Linked DNA regions of Homo sapiens: regions 2, 3, 4 and 5 are each linked to region 1. The links are contacts of gene promoters, found by promoter capture Hi-C in human tissues and cell types (Jung and others, 2019). All regions are on one chromosome and are shown on one strand. Each heading gives the region's core, a stretch centred on a gene start or on the middle of the fragment in contact. The rest is flanking DNA. Distances are from core to core; before and after follow the strand shown.

Evidence for each region. Contacts are between HindIII fragments. The study calls those that stand out against the background at their distance.
Region 2: a fragment that was not itself captured here is called in contact with the fragment with the promoter of KL in region 1 in 2 of the 25 tissues and cell types used here (IMR-90 fibroblasts and heart left ventricle).
Region 3: a contact is called between a fragment that was not itself captured here and the fragment with the promoter of KL in region 1, in 2 of the 25 tissues and cell types used here (IMR-90 fibroblasts and lymphoblastoid cells).
Region 4: a contact is called between a fragment that was not itself captured here and the fragment with the promoter of KL in region 1, in 1 of the 25 tissues and cell types used here (lymphoblastoid cells).
Region 5: a contact is called between a fragment that was not itself captured here and the fragment with the promoter of KL in region 1, in 2 of the 25 tissues and cell types used here (lymphoblastoid cells and spleen).

The regions. Positions count from the first base shown.
Region 1 is chr13:33,015,010-33,017,916 of GRCh38, forward strand. It overlaps KL (klotho), which reads left to right and starts at 1,414. Exons shown (of 5, transcript NM_004795.4): 1 at 1,414-2,250. The coding sequence starts at 1,432. LOC124903151 (translation initiation factor IF-2-like) reads right to left here and starts at 1,444. Exons shown (of 2, transcript XM_047430819.1): 1 at 827-1,444. The coding sequence starts at 1,433. RefSeq lists enhancers at 1,018-1,593, 1,594-2,171, 2,380-2,439 and silencers at 1,450-1,519, 2,210-2,309. The HindIII fragment of the contact is 14,739 bases long and covers 1-2,907 here.
Region 2 is chr13:32,778,123-32,781,029 of GRCh38, forward strand. No RefSeq gene overlaps it. Among named protein-coding and RNA genes, the nearest start is that of LINC00423, 130 kb to the right of the region's middle. The HindIII fragment of the contact is 9,113 bases long and covers 1-2,907 here.
Region 3 is chr13:32,822,447-32,825,353 of GRCh38, forward strand. All of the region lies in intron 4 of LINC00423 (long intergenic non-protein coding RNA 423), which reads right to left. Among named protein-coding and RNA genes, the nearest start is that of LINC00423, 88 kb to the right of the region's middle. The HindIII fragment of the contact is 7,635 bases long and covers 1-2,907 here.
Region 4 is chr13:33,188,388-33,191,294 of GRCh38, forward strand. All of the region lies in intron 1 of STARD13 (StAR related lipid transfer domain containing 13), which reads right to left. Among named protein-coding and RNA genes, the nearest start is that of STARD13-AS, 88 kb to the right of the region's middle. The HindIII fragment of the contact is 4,720 bases long and covers 1-2,907 here.
Region 5 is chr13:33,167,332-33,170,238 of GRCh38, forward strand. STARD13 (StAR related lipid transfer domain containing 13) reads right to left here. Exons shown (of 14, transcript NM_178006.4): 2 at 220-291. Among named protein-coding and RNA genes, the nearest start is that of STARD13-AS, 110 kb to the right of the region's middle. The HindIII fragment of the contact is 7,483 bases long and covers 1-2,907 here.

The sequences.
Region 1 (2,907 bases), core at 164-2,663:
GCACCTCTGTGAGGATCTTGGTCATTCAACACACGTGTACGGGTGAGGAAACTAAGGCACGACTTACTGGGTAGGGAGGTAGGGATATTAGCAAGATCCTTCACTTGTCTGGGCTTTCTGTCTTTGAGTCACCTTTGCGCAGTTTTTCACTGGACTTCACAAGCCTCTGAGGCGGCAGGGCAGACAGGACATCCTTATTTTATAGAGGAGGAAACTTAGGCTTACAGAGGTTTCCTGCCCCAAATCACAAAGGTGGAGCCTAGACCTTCTCAGTCTCCACCAACTGTATTTCGGTTAGCCACAATCCTATCTACCCACATCCAAATGGACACTGTGGCTCTGCAACTTCTGTCAAAAGGGCTCTTTGGCAACAGGAAAAACGTCATGGCTCCATTGTATTGTAGAGGATGGGAATGGGTGTTCCGGCTAAATTCTCCCTCCCCTTTCCCTCCACAGCTCAGATGGCAAATGTGCGACCCAGGGACCTCCCGCTCCAGCAGACCTGTGCGCACAACTTTGCACAGATTACCTGCTAAGTCAGAGCCGAAAGGTAACACAGATGCCAAAGGATAATAAAGGTGAATGAGATTTACTCAAAATTGGAAACTTGGTGTTTGGTTTTTCAGGAGAACAATCAACGACTGTGATTTGAAGTTCACCAGGGTATTCTGAGAGATCTAATCAAAGATAGAGTGCTGGTTTGAAATTATTAAAAGGTAACAGTAAAAGGGAGAGCAAAACCCCAGTCCCAACGCAACCCATAAATCTACTTTGTCTTCCTCGAAAGAGGGGCGCGGGTGGGCGCGTCTCCCCGCGAGCATCTCACCTAAGGGGGAATCCCTTTCAGCGCACGGCGAAGTTCCCCCTCGGCTGTCCCACCTGGCAGTCCCTCTAGGATTTCGGCCAGTCCCTAATTGGCTCCAGCAATGTCCAGCCGGAGCTTCTTTGGGCCTCCGAGTGGGAGAAAAGTGAGAGCAGGTGCTTCCCCAGCGGCGCGCTCCGCTAGGGCCCGGCAGGATCCCGCCCCCAAGTCGGGGAAAGTTGGTCGGCGCCTTTTCTCCCCGACGAAGCCGCTCCAGGGCTGCTCTCAGAGGACGCGCGGCAGGCAAAGAGAATGAACCTGAGCGTCCACGAAACGTCCTGCACGGCTCCCGGGAGCTGGGAGAAACAGGTGCCTTTCTCCGACGTCCGCGGGCGACGCCTGCCGCACCTTGCCCGCTGCCGCGCCCCTCCCGGGCACCCCTCGCCCTCGGCGCCCCTGCCCCCGCCCCCAGTGCCAGGGCGGAGGCAGTCCCGGCTCGCAGGTAATTATTGCCAGCGGAGCCCGCCGGGGAGCGGGGGTGGGCGCGCCGGCGGTGGGCGGGCGGGCGCGGCGGGGCGCGGGCATAAAGGGGCGCGGCGCGGGGCCCCGGAGCCTGGCTCCCGCGCAGCATGCCCGCCAGCGCCCCGCCGCGCCGCCCGCGGCCGCCGCCGCCGTCGCTGTCGCTGCTGCTGGTGCTGCTGGGCCTGGGCGGCCGCCGCCTGCGTGCGGAGCCGGGCGACGGCGCGCAGACCTGGGCCCGTTTCTCGCGGCCTCCTGCCCCCGAGGCCGCGGGCCTCTTCCAGGGCACCTTCCCCGACGGCTTCCTCTGGGCCGTGGGCAGCGCCGCCTACCAGACCGAGGGCGGCTGGCAGCAGCACGGCAAGGGTGCGTCCATCTGGGATACGTTCACCCACCACCCCCTGGCACCCCCGGGAGACTCCCGGAACGCCAGTCTGCCGTTGGGCGCCCCGTCGCCGCTGCAGCCCGCCACCGGGGACGTAGCCAGCGACAGCTACAACAACGTCTTCCGCGACACGGAGGCGCTGCGCGAGCTCGGGGTCACTCACTACCGCTTCTCCATCTCGTGGGCGCGAGTGCTCCCCAATGGCAGCGCGGGCGTCCCCAACCGCGAGGGGCTGCGCTACTACCGGCGCCTGCTGGAGCGGCTGCGGGAGCTGGGCGTGCAGCCCGTGGTCACCCTGTACCACTGGGACCTGCCCCAGCGCCTGCAGGACGCCTACGGCGGCTGGGCCAACCGCGCCCTGGCCGACCACTTCAGGGATTACGCGGAGCTCTGCTTCCGCCACTTCGGCGGTCAGGTCAAGTACTGGATCACCATCGACAACCCCTACGTGGTGGCCTGGCACGGCTACGCCACCGGGCGCCTGGCCCCCGGCATCCGGGGCAGCCCGCGGCTCGGGTACCTGGTGGCGCACAACCTCCTCCTGGTGAGTGCGAGGGGCCAGGCGGAGGGCCACGCAGGGGAGACAGAGGGCCTCCACAGGGGCCAGGGGGAAGTGTGGGAACTGAGTCTCCCCCAGACGAGGCTTCACTTGGACACGTGTATGTGGTCACCGGGGGAAACTGAGCAGTTCTGACTTCCCTTGGAAGGCGTGGAATTAGGAGAGAAATCCCTTAGTGGGCACACGAGTGAGTGCCCCTTGGAGTCCATCTGTGGAAAGGAAGCGGTGATAGGTTTCCGCAGTGAGGAAAGAAACTCCTTTCTCTGGGTGTAGAGGAATTCCTAGAGGTGAGGGCGGGGAGGATTTGCTAGGAGTAACTGCAGGAAGAGAATGAGCAGGGTGGATGAAAGAAACACGTTTGTTCTTAAGCCGCACAGATAGCATTACTCTCTGGAGCTGTCACGAGTTCAGTGTTAATCCAATAAGATCTGTCTTGCTTGTGGCACAAGTTCACACTGTTGTGAAAGTGTCAAAACACAACTCCCGGAGAGTCAGATTTAAACTGTGTTTGGAGGTCCCTTCTGCGGCAGGGCAGGGAACTGCATCCACCAATCTTATTCACCGGGGTGTGAAGACCGCTTTATACAATCTCAAACAAAGCTAGTCATAGAAACACAGAAACAACTGCAGGGTGATATAGAT
Region 2 (2,907 bases), core at 286-2,785, 240 kb before region 1:
AAGTGGAAACACGTCTCAGTAACTTTTTCCAAACCTTTTGTTTAAACTTCTCATGCAAAATGTTGGCGGACAGAGAATTCTAAGTATTATTTAAGTTGAATAATTGCGTAACTGAACAAAATAAATGTATAATATAAACTTTAAAAATAAGCACTAAATAAATAAGTTGCCAGTAGCAGTTTTATTAATTCGTTCAGCAAACATTTATTGAGTGCCTTCTATGTGCCAGGCACTCAAAAATTTTACTCAGTTTTGCAGAGGATAAAGTGTGATCAAGATAGTGTAAGTCCCTGCTTTTGTGGTACTTTCATTATGTTAGAGGTGGGTGAATAAGAAAAAAAAAATTAATATATGATGTCAGATTGTGAAAAATGCAGTGAAAAAAAGGAAAAGCAGGATAGAAAGTACTAATGATAGGTGGAGAAGTTATTTTATATACTTTGAAACATACAGTTTAGGATTGTTATATCTTCATGATGAAGTGATATGGTTTATAATTTAAAATGTCACTTGGTATCTTTATGAATATTTTTAATCTACTTTGCTTGATATTAATGTAGCCATATCAGTTTTGTTTCAGCTATTGTTTGCATGATAAAACTTTTCCTTTTATTTTCAACATACTTACGTTCTCATGGTTAAAATGTGTATCATGTAAACATTTTATACTTGGATTTTGTTCTTTCATCTGAGAATCTTTGTTCTTTAATAGTGTTTAAGCTCTAGTGTAGTTACTTATATAGTTGATTTTAAATCTACCATTTTGCTATTTATTTTCTTTTATGCCAGTCTCTCCTTTATTTTCTCCTTTCCTGCCTATTTCTGGCTCATTTAAAGTGCTTTTTATTATTCTATCTCTTCCATTAGCTTTTTAGTTAAACCTGATTGTGTTATTCTTTTAGAATTACAGTATTTATGTTTGGCTTATTATAGTCTGTGATTAATGCTTTTGCCACCATCCGAACAATGCAAAAAGTTTAAAACAATTCAGCTGTATCTGCCTCTCTAGCCTTTGTGCTAAAGTTGTTGTCTATTTTCAGTATAAAAATGCTACAGTATCCTTGTTGAATAGTCATGTTCTCATATTTACCCATAGATTTTCCATTTTTGCTCTGTTCTTTTTTTAAGAATCATTATGTGCTATCATCTTAGTTCATTTTTCTTCTTTTTTTTTAAAATTTCTTGTTTTCAGCACTTTGACTGTGGTATGCCTAGGTATGATTTTCATTTTATTTAATTTGCTTGGAGTTTACTGACTGGTTGATGTCTTTCATCAGTTTTGAAACATTTTTGGCTGTTATCTCTTCACATATTCTACACTATTTTCTCTTTCTGACATTCCAATTATAAATCTATTAGATTGCTTGTATCCCATCTGCCTTTAAGTGTATTTTCTGTTCTTTCCACTTTTTCTCTGTGTGCTTCATTTTGGATATTTCTGTTGATCCATCTTCAGATTTCTTTTGCTGTCTGTTCTTCCCGTTAACTTTTCAATTAGTTATTAACTTCAAATACTGTATTTTTCAGGCCAGTGTGGTGGCTCACACCTGTCATCTCAGCACTTTGGGAGGCTGAGATGGGCGGACCACTTGAGGTCAGGAGTTCAAGACAAGCCTGGCCAATATGGTGAAACCCTGTCTCTACTAAAAATAAAAAAATTAGCCGGGCGCCTGTAATCCCAGATACTCTGGAGGCTGAGGTGGGAGAATCGCTTGAACCTGGGAGGCAGAGGTTGCAGTGAGCTGAAATCATCACACCACTGCACTCCAGCCTGGGGAACAGAGTGAGACTCTGTCTTTAAAACAAACAAACGAAAGACTGTATTTTTCAGTTCTAGAATGTCCAGTTAATAATATTTTATAGATTTCAGTTCTCTGTTGAAAGTCTCTTTTTACTCATCTTTTCCCCTTTTCTCTTAATTATATAGTCCAAATCTTTACCAATTAACTACAACTTCTCAATCATTTGTCGATCTGATTCTTTTAACTCTTTTTTCTATTGAACATCCATCAAACTTTTCCTGGTCACATTTTTTCCTTCCTTGTGTGGATCTTGTAACTTTTTTCTTATTTGAGGACATTGAATTAAAAGTACTAAAGGATTGAAGTTGATGTGATTTTTCTCCCAAGAGCAGATTTGCCCTTTTTTCTTTTAGGCATTCTAGAGATTGATGACTTCAAGAGTTGAGCCTGGGTTGCAACTTTAGTTAGACTCAATCTGGTTGTTTCAAATGTCTTAATGGTAAGACATGCATTATATGACAGACTAGCACAGCAAGCCTGCAGGAGATTTCATTCAGGCTATTCCGCCCAGCTCCCCAGCAGGAATGCTATTTGACACAGAGTAGTCAAAGGCGGCGTCTTTGAGAAGGTAACATCTGAGCATGGACTTCAATTAAGTGAGGCATCAAGCCTTATGAATATCTGGGAGAAGAGTATTCCAGGCAGAGGGAAGAATAAGTATGAAAGTCCTTAAGCAAGAATGAACTTTGTGCATCAAGGATTTCAAGAAGGCTGATGTTTCTGGAGTTGAATTGAGCAAAAGCTGAAGGAAGGGGTAGGATAGAAAGGAGATAAGAAAGAGCCAGATCACACCTATGATGTCTCTTGGTAATTTTGTTCAAAAGTTGATGGGAATCCATTGTAGGCTTTGAGTAGGAGAGTGGTAAGGTTTGTTTTAATTTTTAAAAATACTACTCTGGCTATTGATGAGAATGGCTAATAGAGTGTAAGAATAGAAGCCCCCCAGTTTAGTTAAATTATATTAGTAGTCTAGACAATTTGTTCATTTCACAATAAGAGTGATAGAAATTGTGATAAGTACTTGGATTCATGATGTATTTTGAAGTTACAGTTAGTAGCCCTTTGCTGATGGATATGGAAGCGTGAGGGAGATGAATCAAAGATG
Region 3 (2,907 bases), core at 211-2,710, 190 kb before region 1:
GCCAGCGGGTCCCTAGGAAGCTCCAGGCCAGCATTTTTACACCCTGGAGGAGAGCTGAGAAGAAGCTGGAAAGGATAATATTGTAAGAGCTAACACTTATAGTGCTGATTATGTTACACCAAGCACTGTTTTAGGTGCTTACGTGTATTAATTTGTGGAATCCTTGCAACACTGTGTGAGTAGGTGTATTTGAATTATCTCCATTTTACGGACGATAAAACTGAGGCACAAAGAGTTAGCTAGTCACCCAAGGTTACTTAGTAAAGGTGGGATTTACACAAATTATGCTTTTTCACTGCTGCCTTACACCACCTTGCTGAGAACTTCTCCACACGCCACCAGTGTGCTGGCTCATGAAGTCGTGTGTGTGTGTGTATGAATGTATGAGTGTGTGAGTGTGTGCCTGTGTGTGAGCTTGGGGTGAGCAGGAAGCTCCAGTGGTGCTGAGACTGTTTTACTCACTGCTTTGTCCTCGGCACCTAGCACAGTGCTCAGGAAATGTTTGTGGAATCAATGCAGGAATAAATACACTTAGATTTTTCCAAGTACAGGCTCCTGTAGCTCCTTTGTTAGGAGCTATTTTGCGGCTGTCATTATGGCCCAATTTTCTTTTTTCATTTGGGTGAAAAATGATTTTGGCATTTAAACAGCATGACTTCATTATTGATTTTTTTAAAAAATCTGCCCCTACTATCAAATTCCCCTCTTGGCATTTTGTTACTCTGGATATATTTAGAAACATCTTTGTAGTGTTCTCCTTCGTTCTTTTGTATCTAGGATGCATTTTAACAAGGAGTATTCTATGTATGCAAAATTGTTGTATTTTTATTTTTGTTTATCTCCTGCAGTCCATAATAGAGGTTAAGAGTATGCCATTTTGATAACAAAGAACTTTCTTACTATCTTTTTGATTGACTGAATAGGCAAAGGAAACACCATAATTGTGTGAAATGGTCTGATTTAGAAACCAATTATAAGGAATGTAATTATCTACTAATGAAATATGCATGTAAGTCCTTGGTTTGCTGCTTCTAATGTCACTGTAGACAAATGCATAGCCAGGAGAAAACTTGCATAAAGTAAATTGAAAATCACCCATTTCCAGATTATTACTGAAAATCTCCTGACACCTAACATCTCAGAACCAAAAAGAATACCTGCTTTTCACCTGCAAGTGTCTCACTGTGTGTGTATGTATATGTGTGTGTATATGTAACATGCATGTGTATATGTGTATGTATTTGTGTATATATGTGATACGTATGTGTTTATATGTGCATATGCATGTAATATGTGTATGTGTGTACTTGTGTGTGTATGCATGTGCCTGTATGTGTGTGAGTGGGTAAGTGTGTGCGTGTATATGTGTGTGTGTATATGTGTGTGTGCGTGTGTGTGTCTATGTGTGTGCACGTGTATATGTGTGTGTGTATGTGTGTGTATGAGTGTATATGTGTGTGTTGGGGGGTGAGTGGGGTAGTGGGGGCTCAGACGGGGTGTTTTCTGGTCAAACCTTAAGGTCCACAACTACCCCTTTCTGTCTACTGATAATTCTTGATGATTAAATCCATAGGTTTCTCTGGGCTACAAAGCCAGAACTCTAAGGTCCTTTTTTTAAATTATAAGAACGAAAATAGAAGAAATTCCCTTTGGTTCTCTTAGGAAATGCATGATTGAGAAACAGCCCGTTGTCCTCTTCAGTTTTCATATGCCGTGCACAGTGAGACAGGGGAGCAGAGCCCTGGGAGCCGGCGCGCTCTCGAGACGTGGACTGTCGCCCCGGGGAGAAGACAGCAGACTGTGCTTCTGAGCTTTCGCCCTCTCCTTCCCCGGCAGAGGCGCTTGTGAAACGTTTGCTACAGTTGGGGCAGGATGGAGAAGGCAGGGTCAAGCTGCACAGCCCCAGGGCAGTGGTGCCATTCTCCATGGTGCTAACAGACTGTGAGTGGGATGCTGAAATTTTAGGGTCCCATTTCCCACAGACGTTTGCCTTGCTCATGGCTGTGGTATAAGAGCAAATTCTCCTTATCCTAAGCCAACCAAGCTTGCTTTATTAAAATATCTTTTATGCCTTCTTGTCCCCACTTCACTGCTCCAGTCTCTTCACTTCCTGAATTTTGTCAATTCTAAGACACGTTTGGGTACATTTGAGCAATTCGAAGTGGGGATGCCTCTTACAGTCAATGCTTGTCATAGTTTAATTGGCAGCCTTGGGACATAACATAATGGTATGCTTTATAATCTATGGTGCCCTAGGTTTGATGAAATATGACAACTCTATGGGCTTTGCAAAACTGTCTCCCTTTCGAGCCTTGTCATATGCTACTGCTTCATACAAACTCTGTCCCGAAGGATGTTTTGTGATGACTTGTGTCCCTGGAATGCACTTTCTTCCCGGGCGATCTTTGCTCTGGTTTTTCTCTGCCTCTGACGCTTTCTATTACAGCTTCGTCTCTGCCTATGGAAATCCGTCCTCTTCTTCAGGGCCCAGCTCAAAGGCTCATCACCACCTGGAGTCTCCCCTGATGATCTCATCCTGAAATCATCCCTTCCTGCCCTAAAATCTTACAGGGATTTGCTTGTGCTTCCTCATGGCATTTAGAGGCCTTTAAAAAACTAATGATCAAATTATTTATCTTTCTTAATAAATTCTTATCCTTATCTTTCTTGGTATTTGGAAGCAAATATTACATTTATATTCTCAAACAGTTGATTTTTCATGGACAATGTGGTAAGGAATGTTGGGCAAAACTCAACTCCAATTCAGATGGAATATCTGTGTCAATTTTATGCAAAACCTTTCTTTTTTTTTTTTTTAAAAAAAACCACTTTTTGAGTTATGATTGAGATATAAAAACCTGTACATATTTAATGTATACAATCTGATGAGTTTGGAGATGAGTACCA
Region 4 (2,907 bases), core at 125-2,624, 170 kb after region 1:
ATAGTGAACATTGAATGAGTCATACAACAAAAATTAAAATGGACACAGAGAGTTAATTCTGAGAAAAATTTCTGGTTATGATCTGCTGCTACACACACACACCCACCCACCCACATGCACACATACTCAACTTCACTGTAAATATCACTCACAAACTCTTTTGTCTTTTATGTCCATTTTTGTTTTCATGGAAACCATCCAACTTTCAATACTCACCACACTAAGATAGTGAAACAGCTTCTTTTGAAGAGGATTCAATTTTCTCCCCGAAATAACTATTTCAATTGACTGAATAGGTTTGTTTCACTGTTCGTCACTTCTAGAAAATGAAATGCATTGAAAAAGCAGTTTGGAGTGATCTAGACTTTAATATCAGATCCTCTGAGCAGGTACTGACCAGATGGGTACAATTTCCTGGCTCTGTGCTTTCTTCATAAAGAATCTGTCAGATTAGTTGGTGAAAATGACAAACGAAAAGACACTTTGCCTTAATAACAAAACCCATGAAATCCCTTAGACTTTTGTAATTATTTTCCGGCTAACTTTGCTTTCTAGGCTTAAGCTGTGAAGTGACATTTGGTGTTTCCTTTTTAAACTAATTGTTATTGCTTATTAGAGCAGACATTTAGTGTCTGTCAGGTATAAGTCAATGACTCTCACACTTTGTATTTATGCTTTTCTTTTGTCATTTAGAAATGTTTTATTTTGTTTCTTTTAATTGCTTAAAAGTAGTGTCATGAATAGCTCGATGCTTCATATAAAACCATAAGGAAGAACTACAAACAAAGCTTTTTTTATTACTTTAATATTTTTTGAGAGGTGATAGAAAGCATGTTTATAATTTGGTTAGAATCTCCAAAGTGGCTGTATCTTTTAAAACTAGTATTTAATGGCTAGATATAACCAACTTTCAGTTATAAGAAAGAAGGAAAGGAGGAAGTGGGAATGGCAGGAAGGAAGTCAGGAAAAGAAGCAGGAGGGCAGGAAGGGAACGACAAACCAGAGAGTCCCTTCCCTTTCCTCCTGCTTTCCCTCCTTCCTCCTTTCGGAGGAAGGAGGGAAAGCAGGAGGAAAGGGAAGGGACTCTCTGGTTTGTCGTCCTTTCAAAATTCCTAAACAAATTCAGTCCTTCCGATGGCACTTTCATAGGCTAGCAGGAGTACTTCTGGACACTTCTAGCTGGTCATCTTGCTGCTGTGTATGAACCTCCCTCCCACAAAGAAGGAACCTGTTTGTGTGCCCTTCCTGTTCTATATGGGTGCCCTTGCTGTGGGACAGGGCCCAGTTCACAGCTATTTCGCTAATCAGAAACTTCAACGCCTTTCTCAATTTCATCTAAGTACAGTTTTCTGCTTGACTCAGTTACTCTCTCATGTACAAAATGGTCCTCTGCCCCGTGTCCTCCCTGTGTTCATCCTTGCCCGGGTGATCCCAGTTTCTAGCAGGAGTTCAGCAGAAGTCACTGATTGAAATGTACCACCTGAAACAGCATCTTACTTTCAACTGCAACCCACTCTAAGCCATTTTATATACTATTGTAAAAATGATGATCCCAAACTTAACTCTAGATTTATGTTATTTTAAAATTTAGCTTCCTGATCCCCTTTTGGGACAAAACAACTTTCTCATTATACTAGATACCCTATAATCACCCAGGAAGTTCACATTAATTGATGACTAAATATTTGGCTAAAGGTCTATCATGGCTAGTGAATACCAATTTGGGCTTTATTTTACCCTAAATCTGGTTTAGTTAAAAATATTTTAAGGATAGGCTGGGTGTGATGGCTCATGCCTGTAATCCCAGCACTTTGGAAGGCCAATGAGGAAGGGTCACTTAAGGCCAGGAGTTCAAGAACACAATGAAACTCTGTCTCTACAAAAAAAAATGAAAAGAATTTAGCCCGGATGTGGCTTCAGTTACTTGGGAGGCTGAAGTGGGAGGATTGTTTGAGCCCGGGAGGTAGAGGCTGCAGTAAGCTATGATCCTATCACTGTACTCCAGCCAGGGTCACAGAGAAAGACCCTGTCTCAAAAAAAATAATAAAATATATTTTAAGGATTTCCTGAGCCAGGCATGAAAACAAAACCCCAAGGGTTTTTAAGCATGTGGTTCTTAACACCACCACCATGAGAGATGAAAAATAAATGATGTACTGTTGGAATACTGCACCCATTTCGTTTTCTTTTCTTTTCTTTTCTTTTTTTTTTTTTTTTGAGACCAAGTCTCACTCTATTGCCTAGGCTGGAGTGCAATGGCACAATCTTGGCTCACTGCAACCTCCGCCTCCAGGGTTCAAGCGATTCTTCTGCCTCAGCTTCCTGAGTTGCTGGGATTACAGGCACATACCACCACGCCTGGCTAATTTTTGTATTTTAGCAGAGATGGAGTTTTACCATGTTGGCCAGGCTAGTCTCGAACTCCTGACCTTGTGATCCACCGGCCTTGGCCTCCCAAAGTGCTGGGATTACAGGCATGAGCCACCGTACCCGGCCACTACACCCGTTTATTAAAGTACTGAATATAAATTACACAGTCTTAAAAATACCAGCATTCAAAAAAAACCCAAAATATCAGCTTTCAAAAATACAAAAACAAAATACCAAGTATTACTGCAATGCCTTATTATACTCATTTCCAAAAAGATGTTGGGATTTTGTAAACAATTTACAAGGTATGTTTATTTTAATAAGTTACGACATAAACAATTACTAAAGTAAGGTCATGTCAAAAACTATATACGCGGTTTTCAGCTTTTTAAGTGTATTTTTCTTTGGGAAGCTTTTATGATTGGCCCACTATGGATTATTAGATGGTAAGTTAACTAACTTCTGAATGCTTTTAATTTAATTTTTAAAAAACGATTTAATACTTGGCTGGTCACAGACCCCATCTATTATTGTTAC
Region 5 (2,907 bases), core at 245-2,744, 150 kb after region 1:
GTAGTGGGAAGCAGAAAGTAAAGTGGGCCTGGGAAGTGATATTCATTTCTAAATTGGTATCAGGATAACCCCTGGGCATAGCAAAAAGGCCGAGGGAAAAAGAAAGCGAAGCAAAATGGGCGAGAAAAAAAAATCTGGAAGTCAAAACACACCACAGGATACGTGTGGTTCATTTTGGATTTATTCTCTGTGTAAGAGCGAAGCGAAGGGCTGACGTACCCTCATATAACTGAGCGTATTGCGGGAACCCGGCAGCACGGAGCCAGTCACATGCTTCTTTTGCCTCAATTTCTGAAAAACACAAGAGAGATAAAATTGTGAGTCCCACAGCCGCACCCTAGTACTCTGCCTTCTTAATCATGGAGACACTGGTGAGCTTTGTGCAAGTTATTACAAAGCAAAATTGTTCCAGGTAAGTCTGCATAAGTAGGCTTACCCGGGAGTGGGTGGAAAACGAGCGGGTAATACAAAGGTCCTTGTTATGTGTCTGCTAAGATAATCTTCAATGTAGATCCATAAGTATGTGGATAATAACAAAACCACAGATCATAGAAGACAAAGGCTGAATTTCAGGCAGGGAAAAATGTCTTATTTATACACCAGGGAACCAGGGCACTAGGGGAAAAGAGGGCATTCTTCTTTACAATTCTTTTTTTTTTTAATGGAATTTTTTTTTTAAGTTCCAAAGATTAGGCTAAAAATGTTTATTCAACATTCCTTCATTCTTTCACTCTTGGGATAACTTTAAGAAAGACTACAACTAGATTGCCTATGAAAATGTATTTTCTCATGAAAAAAAGCTAAAATCCAGTGTATTATTGTTTTAAAAATTTCACTAATAGCCTTAATTCCCCATGCATTATAACAAAATGTTCATTAATCAAGCACATTGGAATGATTTCAAGCTGTAGAGTGCGGCATAGAAGAGGAAAGTTGATTATTTGGAATTGAGACTTGAGTTTGATGAGCCTGCCAGAACCTCTGAGGGCCAAGCCCAAGAGGTTGATATGTCCCTTGGGTGACCATTTTTGGTGTGGATGCACCAACAGCCCACCGGACCACCTGCCTGGGGAAGCTGTGGAGTGAGATAGGAGGAGTCTACAGTATGTGAACCAGGTCACTTTTTGACCTTGTGAATCCTGGATCATTTCCCAACCACAACTCTGTTAGACAAATATGAATCCAAGGGGAAAGAAGTTCATCTGTTGAAAGTCCAGTCTCTCCAAACAAAATTAAACAGCCTATTATCACAAGTCTTTACCAAGGCCCTTTCCTCCGCTGTTAGGATGGGTCCCTGTCAGGTCATTGTATTTCCATTTACTATGATGCTAATTTTTCCCCATAGCCAAAGCTGGAGTGTACAGGGCGTTCTTGGGATCACTGCACAGAAATGATCTACACTAACATCACCCTGGGCCTGCGATTGTACCTCAACATTGAAAGCTCAGTGTCTGTGCAGTAAGATGTTTGATGTGCCAGAGCTATTTGGTATATGTTAGGAAAATAGACCAAAGGCCAGATCTTACTCAGGCATCACCAGGAAGAGCAAAACCCTACCGCCTAGTTCCACAGATCTGGTTAAATCTAGATTGAACTTTGTCATTAAATCCAAGGAAACAGAGCCTGTGGTGGCTCCTGCCCCGGAACGCCTGCCTCTTCTGTCATCCCCTAATCTACTGTTACTCCAGGGACTGATGATTTCAAAAGCTTGAGATTTGTCTCTTGTGTGAGGGTTTTCCACTTAAGTGTGACCAGCATGTTCCTACCATGTACCCATTCCTGCCATGGACACATGGTTCAGAAACATCCAGGGAACCAAGCTGGAAAGAAAAGCTATTGAAAGCATTTCTATCAGAAAAGGAGTCTCTGAGTTCCACAACTGCTGTTCAAAACACAGCTTAGCTGAATTGTGCTGCCTGGGCTAACTTGGGCTTTCCTCTGGGAAGGTACAAAAGGCAATTATTGCATTGCTCAAAAGTTCTATTTAGTACCCAGTTGAGAGTCTGTATTTGAAGGTTCCTACTTTGATAACCACACAAGTATTTCAGAGGAAATAGGAAAACATACATTCCATCTGTAACGTGTGGAAAATGTGGTGAGTTGCTCCTGAGTCATGGATAAAGTGCTGCCTAATAGATTTTCAAGCTCAGATTTGCTTCCCGCTCCCATATAATACAGCGGATAGTAACGAGAAAACACCTAATTTCTAGACATGCTCTAAACCTAATTATGAGTCAGCAAGTCTTGGAGAGAAGCACAGAATATTATATTTTCTCTTGGCATTACATGAATCCTATGCCTTTTTCTGTTTTATTATTACCTTTACTACAATGAAAATGTAGTGTTCAGCAAGACAGTCCCAGAGAGCCAGGCCATGAAGAACAAATGGGGAAGACCCACAAGACAGGGGCTCTGCAGCCTAGAAAGCTCAAAGACAGAGAGTGGGAAGTGACCTATGAAAGAGTTCGCACCCCTCCAGCCCAGGGAATGTGGTGAGCTCAGATCCTGAAGATGAAAAGGATAACATGGTGGAGAAGAAGTGGGCAGCCAGGAATCCTTCTAGAAAACTCCCTTTGGAACATCACGTGTTTTCACTAATTTGTGGGATCTAAAAATCAAAATAATTGAACTCATGGACATAGAGATTAGAAGGATGGTTACCAGAGGCTGAGGAGGGTAGTGGGGGCTGGAGGAGAGGTGGGGATCATTAATGGGTACAAAAAAAAATTAGAAAGAATGAATAAGACCTACTATTTGATAGCACAACAGGGTAACTACAGTCAATAACAACTTATTTGTACATTTTTAAATAACTAAAAGAGTATAATTGGATTGTTTGTAACACAAAGAATAAATGCCCGAGGGGATGAATACCCTATTCTCCATGATGTAATGAGTTCATATTGC